Linked DNA regions of Homo sapiens: all the other regions are linked to region 1. The links are contacts of gene promoters, found by promoter capture Hi-C in blood cells and fetal thymus (Javierre and others, 2016). All regions are on one chromosome and are shown on one strand. The core of a region is centred on a gene start or on the middle of the fragment in contact, and the rest is flanking DNA. Distances in the headings are between cores, read along the strand shown.

Region 1 (4,358 bases), core at 1,251-3,750:
AAAAAGATGGATGGCTGCTACTCTGGGCACACTGCCCATGGCCACAGGAGCAGTTAAACACGAACAAAAAAAGATTGGTCCCTCTTGGCGTAGAACAGAAGGTGAGGTATTCCTTCTCTTAGCCACCAGCTACAAGGCAGTGCTCACCCCACTGCCTGCCTTAGCCCTGACACTGGGAGCCTGAGAGGTCCTCTGTAAGTACACCGAGGCCCAGAGAGGATGAACAACTTGCTCAACGTCACATCACAGATCAGCGATAAAGTGTGGGCCTGACTCAGGGCCTGAATGTGGGATAATCCTCCTTCCACCTCTCCAAGCCGCCTCCCCATGACCCCCTAGCCCACAAACTCTAGCGTCTTAGGAAAAGTTGGCTGGGGCTGGGCGTGAGTGTGAGAAGCAGAGTTATTTCAGGCCTCAGGAGGGTTGGGTGCTGCCTTGGAGTCCAGCCAGGGAGTGGGGGCGAGTGAAGGCGGGTGTTGTGGTGTACTGTGGGGGTGCACTGTGCCCGCCTTCTTGTCAGGCAGTAATTACTCAGACTGCTGAGTAACTCAGGCAGGGAGACCCCCACAGACAGATGGAGGTGCCCTCAGCCCAAGCTGAATGGCAGCCCCCAATGTCCTGCACCACGGAGTCTTGGGGAAGCATTCTCACATCTGTTCTTCATGTCCAGTTCTCCTAGGCATCATCCGGCTTCCTAATGGGGGCCAGAGCAGCTCATTAGGCACAGCGGGTGCGGGGCAATGTTACTAGAGGGATGGGACTTTTGCCATCAAACAGGCCCCACCTCTGATGAGGGAAAGGTCCCAAGGGATATGGCGCCTGCTAGGGAGAAGCCATTGCTCAGTTGGAGCCAGTCCTTTCCCCTTGAAACTCCATGCTGCAGTCACAGCTAAGGCTGTCCACAGGCTGGGCAGCAGTGTCCTGAGAGAGGAGGGGCTGAGCTCCCAGAATTCAGATCTTGCACCCTGGGGATCCAGAGAAGCTGGGGGGAGATGGGAAGGTCTAGTCCGGACGCTTATCGAGTTGAGGGGAGTGTTCCTGGGACCCACATTGGTCACTTTTCTGTCTAGAGCTACCTGTCCTAAGAGTGCCGGTGGCCTGGGGGGCACAGCACTGACCCTTGGTGATGGTCCCTCAGCTGCTCACTCCCTGCCTGTCCAGCCATTCCTCCTCTCTGGGCAGCCTCCCAGGCAGGGCCTGTCTCTGGCTGCTTGTTTTTACTTCTCCCTGCACCTTAATTAGGGGTTTCCAAGCAGGGAGGGCCTCTGGGGGAGCCCGAGGACACAGAGCTGACTTAAAGGGCCAGCTGTGATCACAGCACCACCGCAGAGAGAGGAGGAGGATGCCAGGGGGCTGGGTAGACCGTCAGACCTGGAAGACCATTGTTCCACGGGACAGACTGCTGAGGGCCAGTCCTGCAGGTACTTTGCTCTTCCACAGGTCAAAGCCGTCTCACTGGCTGTCTTCTCTTTGGGGTCTCTGGGGCTCTGGCCAGTGATCAGGAGAAAGACCAGCCCTGAGGGGCAGGGCAAAGGTTGGCCAGGGTCCAGAAGGGTTAGACATCACAGTCCTCCACTGCCCACCTTCCCAGGAAAGCACCCTCAGGCTGTGGGCCTTCCCCAGAGGGGCAGTTTCTACAGGGTCTACGCAGTGGATTCTAAAGGTGATAAAGGCTGGGTGCAGTGGCTCGCGCCTGTAATCCCAGCACTTTGGGAGGCCAAAGTGGGAGGATTGCTTGAGTCCAGAGGTTCAAGACCAGCCTGAGCAAAATAGTGAAACCTTATCTCTACTAAAAAAAAAAAAAAAAAAAAAAAAAAAAATTAGCTGAACGTACGCCTGTGGTCCCGGGTACTCAGGGGGCTGAGGCAGGAAGATGAATTGAGCCCAGAAGGTTGAGACTGCTGTGAACCATGATCGCACCACTGCACTCCAGCCTGGGCGACAGACCAAGACCCTGTCTCAAAAAAAATAATTTAAAAAGCTGATAAGGGCGATCCACAAACCTGCACCAAGACTCTCAACTTGGAGCTGGGCTGGTGGTCCCTGAGTTCTGTCCTGCCGGACAGTAGAGTCCCCCTAGGTAGGGAACGTGGCCCCACACGGCGGCCGGGTGACCGACCACTGCTTACCAGGAGGGGAGACTGGCAGGGGGGGCTCAAGGAACATCTGGTGGGTGTCCCCTTCACAAGACTCGGCCTGCAGAGTTCGTGCAGGGAGTTCGCACATAGGAGAGCACCGGTCCGGGAGTGCCAGGCTCGTGCCCGGCCGGGGAGAGGAGTGGGAGACTAAGTCGCAGGGCAAGGGCAACTGCATAGTCGGGGACCTCTAGGGAATCCTGAGTCCCGGCATTCTGGGCTGGGGTGGAGCCCACTACAGCCCCGCCCCTATCTCCTCCTTTATGGCCCCGCCCAGCGGGTATCCCCCGCCCCCGCTGGCCGATCGGCGATCGATCGCAATGTCTGCGCTCTCCGCGTTCTTCCAGCGCTGTCTTTTTAGTACCACATGCGCAGGCAGGTGATGGCGGCGCTGGTCGTATCCGGGGCAGCGGAGCAGGGCGGCCGAGACGGCCCTGGCAGAGGTGGGTGCTGGAACGCTGCGCCCTCCAGACCTCGCATCTCGGGGCGGGGCCCCCAAGTTAGGGACAGGACCAACCCCCTTTAACGGCGGCGGCGCCTTTCTCCGCTAGATCCCGCTGTTAGTCGCCTTGGGCCGCTGTCACCAGCTCGGGGTCGCTGTCAGCCGGAGCCCAGGGGTACCAGTCTTTTGCAGCTTTAGGGCACGACCGAGAGCAGCCCTTAATCCTCCAATCGGAAACTACAGCCTTGTCTTGGCGGGTAGACGGATAAAATGGACTCGACGGGGAGGGAAAGGGCCAGGCCAGATGCAGCGGGCATTTTACGAGTGCGCCCTCAGGGAATGCTTTCAGGGAAGAGGCAAAAGGTTTCATTCGCCAGGCATTAACTGAGCGCCCACCGAATGCCAGGCCTGCGCTGGGTGCAGGTACTAGAATCAGAGATCTCAGTCTACTGGGGGAATGTTAATGTAAACATATCATAGCCACGTGATAAAGGAGGAGGTGCCTACTGGTCCCTGGGACACATTGAAGGGCTAATGTTAGCAGTTCCTTACACGCCAGCGACCACTAGGGACCTGTCAGAGGAGGATCTGTAATGGGCCTAGGAAGCCTAGGCTGATTGTCCAAGGCTTTTGAAACAACTGGCCAAAAACCATAGCAGTGGTAACGTTCAAATCTGATCTCAGGGCCCCAGCCTCCGCTGGACCATCCCCACCGCCGCCCACACAGTGGGTGAAGCCTCATGTCTGGGCGGGTCCCTCCTATCATAGTGTGGGGCCCTAGCAGAAGTTGTGGCACATAGCACAGTCTCAATACATATTCGTTGAATAAGTTAATTTCTTGCCTTTTCATATCCTCAGACTCTGTGGCTCCTGAAGAGATAACGGGGTTGAACTAAGCTTAATTGTCGGGGCAGGGCATAGTGGCTTACACCTTTAGTCTGAGCACTTTGGGAGGCTAAGGAGGATTGTGTGAGCCCAGGAATTCCACACCAGTCTGGGAAACATAGGGGGACCCTGTATGCACAAAAAAATAAAAAATAGCCGTGCGTGGCCGGGCACGGTGGCTTACACCTGTAATCCCAGCACTCTGGGAGGCTGAGGCGGGCGGATTACCTGAGGTCAGGAGTTTGAGACCAGCCTGGCCAACATGGTGGAAACCCTGTCTCTACTAAAAATACAAAAATTAGCCGCGTGTGGTAGCACACGCCTGTAATCCCAGCTACTCGGGAGGCTGAGGCAGGAGAATTGCTTGAGTCCGAGAGGCTGAGGTTGCAGTGAGCCGAGATTGCACCACTGCACTCCAGCCTGGCCAACAGACAGAGTGAGACTCTGTCTCAAAAAAAAAAAAAAAAAAAAAAATTAGCCCTGCGTCTTGGCACATGCCTGTGGTCCTAGCTACTGGGGAGGCTGAGGTGGGAGGATTATCGTTTGAGCCCAGGACGTCGAGGCCGCAGTGGACCATGATTGCACCCCTGCACTCCAGCCTGGGTGATGGAGTGAGACCCTGCCTTAAAAAATAATAAGATGAATTGTTTATTCAGCTTATTATTTTTTATCCTACTTAGGAGTAGGATGAGACCAGAGTAAGAGTTGCAGTTTGCTAAGGGCTACGGTTTCCCCTTTACTCCAGGAGTTGTAATTATGTGTATACCTGTCTTTTCCCCCACTAGACTGCTGGTCTCTAAGGGACAAGGTCACTTTTCTGTCCTTACTGGTACGTCCACCACCCTGACTCAAGTGTTCTTTCCATCCTTCCTGGTTTAAGAGTAAGGAGGAGCAAT
Region 2 (4,358 bases), core at 703-3,202, 380 kb before region 1:
TTCGCAGTGGCACACGCCGGTCGCGGGGTCGCAGCGCCCGTGGGGGCCGCAGGCGCACGGGAACTCGCAGCGGGCTCCCCAGCGGTCGGCCTGGCACTGGCACGCGCCCGTGGCTGGCTCGCACTGGCCGTGCGGGTGGCAGGGGCAGCTCTCACGGCAGTCGGGGCCCCAGTACTGGCCCGGGCAGCCTGCGGGGGTGGGGACGGGAGGGGTCAGCGGGCTCAGGGCCGCGCGCAGACCCTTACCCTGCGTCCCCTTCCTCAAGGAAAAGGGGCGCTGGGCCCATCCTCCAAGAGCCGGGGACAGACCCTCAGAACATCCGGCAGCCTGTCCTGGGCAACACTCACTTCCTGCTCCGCTCTGACCTACAGAAAACCCTTAGCCATTAGTGGGAGGCTCAGCCTGCCACTTCACATTCCAGAACACACTCAGAGATCCTGAGTGGGCAGGGGACTTGCCCAGAGCGTGGCACCGAGGTTGGTGGGCCTTCCTCCATGCCTGCTCCTCCCTGCCGAGATGGATCTCTGCTGGGCTGGAGGAGAGCTGGCTTTCTCCTGATCTCAGGCCTGGATACTGCCCGCCAGGGTGTCGGGAGAAGCCACCTTTCCCCTAGTGATTCCTTGATTCCTGATGCCCACCCTCTGGCTCTCCTGCTTCCCAACCCCTTTCCCTTCCCTCTCTTTCTGCCAGAGAGGGCAGAGAGCCCAGCCAGGGGCCCCCTTCCATCCACTGCCCATGTATAAGGTATATGTGGGAAAGGCAAGTAATACACTCATTTTACAATGAAGGGGAATCACAGGTTTTCTGAGAAGTGGAAGAGGAAGATGCTCAGGTGGGCAGTGCTTTGTGGATGTGGGTAAAAACCCGGTGACTCAGGTCATCTCCCGGGAGTGTGTGTCACTTCCTGTCTCTGGACCGCAATTCCTCAGTGAAGCTGGGGGGGATTCTGGCCCTGCTGTCCTGAGGCTGCATGGCTACCTGCCTCGCCTGCTCCCACACCACTGCCCCCGTACCCAGCTCTGCCCAGCAACTTCATCTGGCCCTTGAGACTCACGGGAGCTGCAGTGGGCCCCAAAGAATCCAGGCTTGCATCGACAGAGGCCCGGCTTCACACACACCTCGTCTTTCTGGCAGGCGTCCGGCCCCTCACAGATGGCTGAAAGACACCCCACCCAGGTTGGAAAGACGGGAGCAGGACCAGGGGACACCCCTGCCCTCTCACTGGCTCCAGGGGCCATGCCTCCTCAAGAGGTGCCCCTTCAGGCCTGGGGGTGCGTCACAGGAGAAACCCTGACTCCTGGTATCAGGAGGGGCAGGCCCCATGGGGTAGGAAGGAAGGGTTGTCACTGGGCTACGGCCTCCCTTCTCCTTGGCTGAGGGTCTGTCCTGGCTACTCACGGATGGTGCATTCTTGATCCTTCTGCCTCCAGCCTGCGCAGCACTGCAGCTCAGCAGAGGGGCTGTGGGGCAAAAAGGGGTCAGCCGGACATGGTGGGGGGTGCAGCCTGGCCCTGAGGAAGGTGGATCACTGTCTCTGGCTGCAGTGGGGGAGGCTGCCTTAGCCCCCTGGGGAGGCCTAATGGATCTTTACAGCTAGGGTCCCCAGCCCCTCCCCTCTCCTTCCCTGACCCTTCCACCATCTGCCCTGGCTGGCCACTACCTGCCAGACCGCCATCAGCAGTCCCTTCCTTTCAGCCTAAGCCCCCTTCCTAGTCTCCTCCTTCCCCTAACGGCCTCAACACCGGTTCAGCCACCCGCATCAGACTCCCACGAGACCCACCTGCTGGCCACACGCATCAGACTCCCACGAGACCCACCTGCTGGCCACACAGACGTGCTGCCCTTTGGGGTCCAGCTCGGACCCCTGAGTCCCCCGAGTCCAGAGCAGCAGCAGCGGGAGCAGCAGCCCCAGCCCCATGGCAGGCAGCTCGGTGGGAGCGCTCGGGTTCGTCTGGCCCCCACAGCTCCCAACCCCCTCCCTGCTTCCTCTCAGGGCTTTTCCTGAGGAAACCAGGCCGGAGGGGCGGGCTGCCACGAGGCACCTCCCTGAGAGGGAGGGGGTGGCTGGAAAGACTGACACTCAAAAAAAGAAAGGGAAAGAAAGGCAATGGCAGGGCTGACTGGCCTGGGCCTGGAAGGGCCAGAAGAATGAAGTTGCAGGTCCCTGGGTGCCGGGGCCAGGGAAGGGGGTGGACTGAGGCTGGGAGCCACGGCTTTCCATCAGGCCACACTCCCAAAGCAAGGCCTGAGCTGCAAGAAGCCACCCCACCCAGTGACTGAGCAAGGAGACCAGCGAGGACCCCTCAGCCTGCCTCTGCTCCTGGCAGGGTTGGGAGGTGGCACAGACATGGACAGACAGGCGAGGAACAGTTTCTGTGTATTACGGGCAGTTCTTTATTACATGAGCTCAGGCCGTCTGCACAAAGCCCTGGGAGCTAGGCAGTCAGCTCTCATTTCATGGATGGGGAAACTGAGACTCAGAGAGGCACTCTTATATCTGGCCCCAGAGGCTCGGTACAGAGACGTAGAGAGGGAGGCGGGCTGAGACCCCGTCCTGCCCTGATGCAGGCCAGGATTGGGGCAGACCCCTGGCGAGGGCTGTGAAGGCGGGAGCCCTGTCCTCATTTGAGGCCACACATCCTTCCACAGCCAGACCCCTAAGTCAGGCCTCTGGGGCGGCTGAGGCCCCCAGACAAAGGTGTTCGTGGAGGGCAGAACAGGGCGGATCAGGAGCTGGAGACTGTGGTTGGGCCTCCTCTTCTCCCCCTAGCTTGCTGGGTGCAGGGCTGCTGGTCTCATCCTCAGAGGATTCAGCTTTACCCCGATACCATAGGCCAAAGCTGGAGAGAGACAGCCAGAGGCACTTTGAGCCAGGAAGCCAGAGAGGTCAAGGATATGGGTGAGGGCAGGGGATGGTGAGAAAAGGGGAGAGGGGGAAGAAAGGGCAGCCTGAGGGAGTGTGAAGGTGATGGGGGCCAGGGCCAGAGAAGCAGGAGGGGACGGTGTGCTTAGAGCCAAGCACAGCAGGGTGACGGGCAGAGAAGCGGGAAAGGGGATCCTGAGAAGGACCAGCCAGGGCCCTTCCTCCCTCCCCACACTCTTGCCTTTCCCCTTTCCCCAACATACAAACTCTGTATTTTGGACTCCGGGGGTGGGGGATGGTCTCCCTTGTCATCGGAGAGCAGGATCCATGGGCCAGCCTCATCCTCACTGAGACAGAGGAGAGAGGAGAAGTGAGGGCCATTGATCAAGGCCCTGAGGGACAACAGGAATCCAGCAGGGGGGATGGAGGGACTGCAGGGCCCCCGGGGCTGGAGAGAAGGCAACCCTGGGGAGATGCAGGATGTCGAGCCTTTAATTTTTAATTTTTTTTTTTTTGAGACAGGGTCTCACTCTGTCGCCCAGGCTGGAGTGCAGTGGTGCGATCTCAGCTCACTGCAACCTCCGCCTCCCAAGTTCAAGCGATTCTCCTGCCGCAGCCTCCTGAGTAGCTGGGATTATAGGCACATGCCACCATGCCCGGCTAATTTTTGTATTTTTAGTAGAGACGGAGTTTCACCATGTTGGCCACGCTGGTCTCGAACTCCTGACCTCAGGTGATCTACCCACCTTAGCCTCTCAAAGTGCTGGGATTACAGGCGTGAGCCACCGCGCCCTGCCAAGGGTTTATTTTATAGCTTGACACACAGCAGGCCCTGACACAGCCGCGGCTACAGTTTCACCCCCGTAAGAATAAACAGACCCAGCCAAGACAGGAACTTGAAGAATGAATGTGGAGAGGCAGTGTTGTCAGGCAGAATGGATGGCAGGCAAGGCAAGGGGAGTGGTGAGATCCAGGGAGAAGGGCGCAGGCTGGACAGCGGCCATGGGACACAGCCAGAGCAGGTCAGCAGGCCCTAGAAGCGGCCAGGCTAGGGAGGCTCAAGGGGTGACCGGGTTGGGGTGACAGCCTCAGTCTGAGACAATGGGCTCAGAGGGTGACCAGGCTGGGTCATCAGGCTCAGCAGAATGAGGGAGGGAGGCCTGGCTCCGTGGGAATGCAGGCAGGGACCTACCTGCTCTCTGCTTCCTCTGGTGTCCCTAACATCTTGGCCTTGATCTTCTTCCGCTGCTTCCGGACAGCCACCTTCATGGCCTCGAGCAGAAGGCCGGGGACCCGGTGGTCTGTGAGCAGCTCCCTAAAGAAAAGGGGCAGGGAGGGAGAAAGCCCTGGTGATGCCAGCCATGGGGATGCCAGCAGTGGAGATGCCAGCCGCAGTCCTCACTCCTGGTACCTGTGCACGCAGCTCTTCCCTGAACACGGGAAGCGCTCTGCCTTGCTGACACCCTCAGACCTTAAATTAGGTGGCCCCGTGGCC
Region 3 (4,358 bases), core at 1,066-3,565, 270 kb after region 1:
TTGTACCACGGCATTACATTACCTTCACCTAAAACAATGGATCGTCCTTTATCACACATTAACAACGTGCCACACACTGTGCAGGACTATGTGTTTTCTCACTGATTGGCTTGGCATCTGTCACTCAGAAAACAGAGTAAACCAATCCCAAGGCATGTGCCCCCCAAAATATCTCCCTAGGGAACACCACCTCACAGCACACAATATAATTCCACTCCACTCCACACAAAAGAAATTAACATATCACTGAATAAAGAACAAAGCTTCATTGAGAAGAAGATACTGACCCCTCAGGAAGGCACACTCACTAAGCGAAATAGCTACTGCACATTAACCTCCTACCTAGCACATAACTCAAATTTGTACCTCAGCAAAGTTATAATGACTACATATCACATACCCCAAGTCCTAACTGTTCCACAGATTCTATGAATGAACATCCCCAAAGGTGTTAAGAATCCTCTGTATTTAACTGATAAAGCACAAAGAGAACTGATTATGCCTCCATACTACATCCACTTTGTCATGTTGGTAAGAGACAAAAACAAAACAAAACAAAACAAATTCTTTCAAAGGCTCTCCGTCAGCCTCAGCATGAAGTCCTGGACGATTGAGCCTCTGCTTACCTCATCAGCACCATATTCCCGGTCACTTTCTGTACCTCAGTCAGACCAGACTCCAAAGTTCCCCTAACACACCACGGTGTTCTCCACTTCAGGGCCTTTAAGTATATTGTCCTCTTCCCCTAAAATGTTCCTCTCCTTGCATCTACACATACACCTTCACCTGGCTGAAGCTTTCGGCCTTCAGCGTTAGTTTAACTATGATTTTCTCAGTCTCACAGGATTCTTTAAAACTAGGTTAACCCTTTACAGTATACACCCCCAACATCCTTGGCAAAAGTCACTCCATCAGCAATTACTCATCCAAAGTCTGTACTCACCAGCAATCAAACACTAAACTCCAAGAAACAGGAGCACGGTTTTTTTTCAATCTGCACTGAATTGCCTCTGCCTAAAATACCACCAAGCATGTAAGAGGAACTCAATAAACACTTTTTTTTTTTTTTGAGATAGAGTCTCACTTTGTTGCCCAGGCTAGAGTGCAATAACGCAGTCTTAGCTCACTGCAACCACTGCCTTCTGGTTTTTAAGCGATTCTCCTGTCTCAGCCTCCTGAGTAGCTGGGATTACAGGCATGCACCACCACACCCAGCTAATTTTTGTATTTTTAGTAGAGAGGGGGTTTCGCCATGTTGGGCCAGGCTGGTCTCAAACTCCTGACCTCAGGTGATCTGCCTGCCTTGGCCTCCCAAAGGGCTGGGATTAAAGAGTGAGCCACTGCGCCCAGCCAAAAACATCTGTCCATCAGTAAGAAAGTGTGTATGTAGTAGAAGGAGCAAAAAGGCAAGAGGAAGCCTCTGCTCCATAAATCACGCTGCTCTCCCTAATGCATCTCTAACTGCTTCCTAAATATGCTCAACTTTCCAATCTTAAAACAAAAACTGGCCAGGCGTGGTACAGACAAAAAAAACGAAAAACAAAGAACAAAAAACCTTCTCTTAGAACCCTATGTTCTTTTAGCTGTCTTCCCTCCTTGTCTTCGCAGCCAAGATGCTTAAAAGAATGGTCTATATTACTCTCTGGCAATCTCTACTGCTTTATCTCTCTTCACTACAATCCGGCTTCCAGTTTCCCCAACTAAATTAACTCTTGATAAGTTCATCCAATCCAACGGACACTTTTTAGTAATCTTAACATTTGACAGCTCCATTGCACTTGACAATTTTACCTACCCCCACCTTGAAATGTAACCCCCGTTTCTGGCCAGCCTTCCCAGTACCCCAACTTTTGCTTCAACCACCACCTGTATCATGATGACTCATGAATCTATATCACCAGCCCAGCTTTCTCCTGACCTCCAGAGAGACCACAATATTCACTTGTTCACTTTCAAGTTCCTGTAACACACACACCTCCACATCAGCATATCCAAACCTGAACCAATCTCTTTCCTTTGCAGCCACTCCCCTGGACTACCAGCTGGGAGATGATTCAGACTCTTCATGCCTCCAATCTCATCCCTCACACCAAATCAGTCAACAATTCCATTCTATTTCCTTTCTTTCTTTCCAATCTGTCTTCTCTTTCCCATCTCCACGACCTCTATCTTAGTTCAGACCTACAACCTGACTCCTCTATCTCCACTCTTGCCCAGCTCCCATTCAAACTCACCAATTTGCCCAAGTGACTGGTTCTAAGAACAAATCTACCTTATCCATTTACTAAAAAATCAATTAATGGTTCCCCAGTGCTTTCAGAATGAAGTCCAAACTCTTCGGCATAGCATATGAGAGTTTATGACCTAGTCGCTTCCCACTTTGTTAGCTTTTCCACCTACAATAGCCCCCTCCACACTACAAACACCAGCATACTGAAGTTCTTGCACTTTCCCAACAATGCCTGGTTCTCTTTTGCTGGACCCTCTATCTAAACTGCCCCTCCCACCTTCAAACTCCTAGTCATGTTTCAAAACTCAGCTTGACAATCTCCAAGAAGCCTTCCTTGGCCCCACCAGGCTACGTTAGATTCACTTCTCCCTATGGCCCTTCAACACTCTATATCAGGGGTCCCCAGCCCCCAGGCCGCGGACTGGTACCAGTCTCTGGTCTGAGCGGTGGGCAGGCAAGCATCACCACCTGAACCCTAACTCCTGTCAGATCAGCAGCGGTATTAGTTCTCACAGGTGCGCAAACCCTATTGTGAACTAAGCATGCGAGGGACCTAGGCTATGCACTCCTCATGAGAATCTAATGCCCCAACATCTCCGTCCATGGAAAAACTGTCTTCCATGAAACTAGTCCCCGGTGCCAAAAAGGCTAGGGACTGGCCAGGCCCGGTGGCTCATGCCTGCAATCCCAGCACTTTGGGAGGCTGAGGCGGGTGGCTCACCGAAGGTCAGAAGTTCGAGACCAGCCTGGGCAACATGATGAAACCCCCGTCTCTACAAAACATAGAAAAATTAGCCAGGCTTGGTGGTGGGCACCTGTAACGCCAGCTACTCGGGAGACTGACAGAGGAGAATCCCTTAAACCTGGGAGGCAGAGGTTGAAGGTTACAGTGAGCCAAGATCAAACCACTGCACTCCAGCCTGGGTGACATGAATGAAACTCCTTCTCAAAAAATGAAAAAAAAAAAAAAAAGAAAGAAAGAAAGAAAAAAGGCTGGGGAGCACTGCTATATACCACTACCATAGTACATATGACATTACAATTGTTGGTTTAATCTATCTGTCCCTGCACTGAACTGTATCATTATTTTATCCTCAACACCCAGTACAGTGTCTAGCACATACCTAACACTAGATAAACGCTTACGAAATGAATGAAAATTTAAGATACATAAAGAAGGTAGCTTACTGTCTTGCGTAATGGCTTGCTGCGAATGGCAAGACCATCCATGTAGTCTTCCAGTTTGAACTTGTAAGTAACCTGCAGCTTCTGAAGCAAACTATCAAAGAAGTCACTACCCTATAAAAAGAAAAAAAGAAATGACTGAATCAATCTATTCTAATCCAACCTATCCACCAAAAACCGGGGCAGACAACCCTTTCACAGTTCTGCTGATGTTCAGACATCCTATGAAAAGGGAGGCACGCACAATATTCACTGGCCACCAATTTGAGAACAAGGCAAATTCACAGTCAAAGCCTCCATGGTTTTAAAGATATGAACACATGAACACACACACACACACACACACACGCTCTCTCCACACAAACACAAACACATACATACACATTCTCATTCTCTCTCTTTTAGGCCAAGGCATTCAGAAAGCTTTCAACCTCAAAACTCCAATTGCCAGTAATTTATGGTCCCAAGGAAGCAACTGGTGTAGGGAAGGCTCAGAACCCAAGAAAAGGGCAGTTTTTTTGTCGATATTCTGTTCTAAAACATAGTATTTCAGGTAGTAAAAATCCATCGTAACTACAGAATGCTGAAGCCTTTATCCTGAGGACAAAAAGATGACAGTTTACCTCATCCAAGAGCTCCAAAAGTCTGTTCCGAATCTGTTCTGGGTTCTCAACATTCGGATCCTTGACAAGTTGCCTGAACTTCTCAATCACCTGATAGAAAGCATTCTTCCACAGGATCTGATCCACATTCTGATTATCAGAGAACTCAATATCTAATAGAATACAGCGCTCATATAGCTGCAGCAGTTCAGCTCTGGAATAAAATACATGCAACTTCCAGCTCCAAATACACCACAGAAAAAGCTAGACTCAAGTTTTGAGATTCCTGCAAATTAACCACCTCCCCTGGCAGGAAATAAAAAATGTGACCAGGTAGGTAT

The links. The method cuts DNA at HindIII sites, captures the fragments that hold promoters and counts their contacts. A CHiCAGO score of 5 or more calls a contact.
Region 2: a contact is called between the fragment with the promoter of SCARF1 here and the fragment with the promoter of DPH1 in region 1, in 2 of 17 cell types (fetal thymus and naive CD4 T cells). The highest score is 6.5, in fetal thymus.
Region 3: a contact is called between a fragment that was not itself captured here and the fragment with the promoter of DPH1 in region 1, in 3 of 17 cell types (naive CD4 T cells, endothelial precursors and total CD8 T cells). The highest score is 6.7, in naive CD4 T cells.

Annotation. Positions count from the first base shown.
Region 1 is chr17:2,027,653-2,032,010 of GRCh38, forward strand. It overlaps DPH1 (diphthamide biosynthesis 1), which reads left to right and starts at 2,501. Exons shown (of 13, transcript NM_001383.6): 1 at 2,501-2,578. The coding sequence starts at 2,518. RefSeq lists enhancers at 2,249-2,840, 2,841-3,432. The HindIII fragment of the contact is 3,872 bases long and covers 1-3,472 here.
Region 2 is chr17:1,643,780-1,648,137 of GRCh38, forward strand. It overlaps SCARF1 (scavenger receptor class F member 1), which reads right to left and starts at 1,953. Exons shown (of 11, transcript NM_003693.4): 1 at 1,818-1,953; 2 at 1,399-1,460; 3 at 1,055-1,156; 4 at 1-188. The coding sequence starts at 1,918. RILP (Rab interacting lysosomal protein) reads right to left here. Exons shown (of 8, transcript NM_031430.3): 6 at 4,056-4,178; 7 at 3,127-3,210; 8 at 2,371-2,840. The coding sequence ends at 2,663. The HindIII fragment of the contact is 11,256 bases long and covers 1-4,358 here.
Region 3 is chr17:2,293,825-2,298,182 of GRCh38, forward strand. It overlaps SMG6 (SMG6 nonsense mediated mRNA decay factor), which reads right to left. Exons shown (of 19, transcript NM_017575.5): 3 at 4,039-4,231; 4 at 3,419-3,529. Among named protein-coding and RNA genes, the nearest start is that of SMG6, 7.8 kb to the right of the region's middle. The HindIII fragment of the contact is 3,042 bases long and covers 795-3,836 here.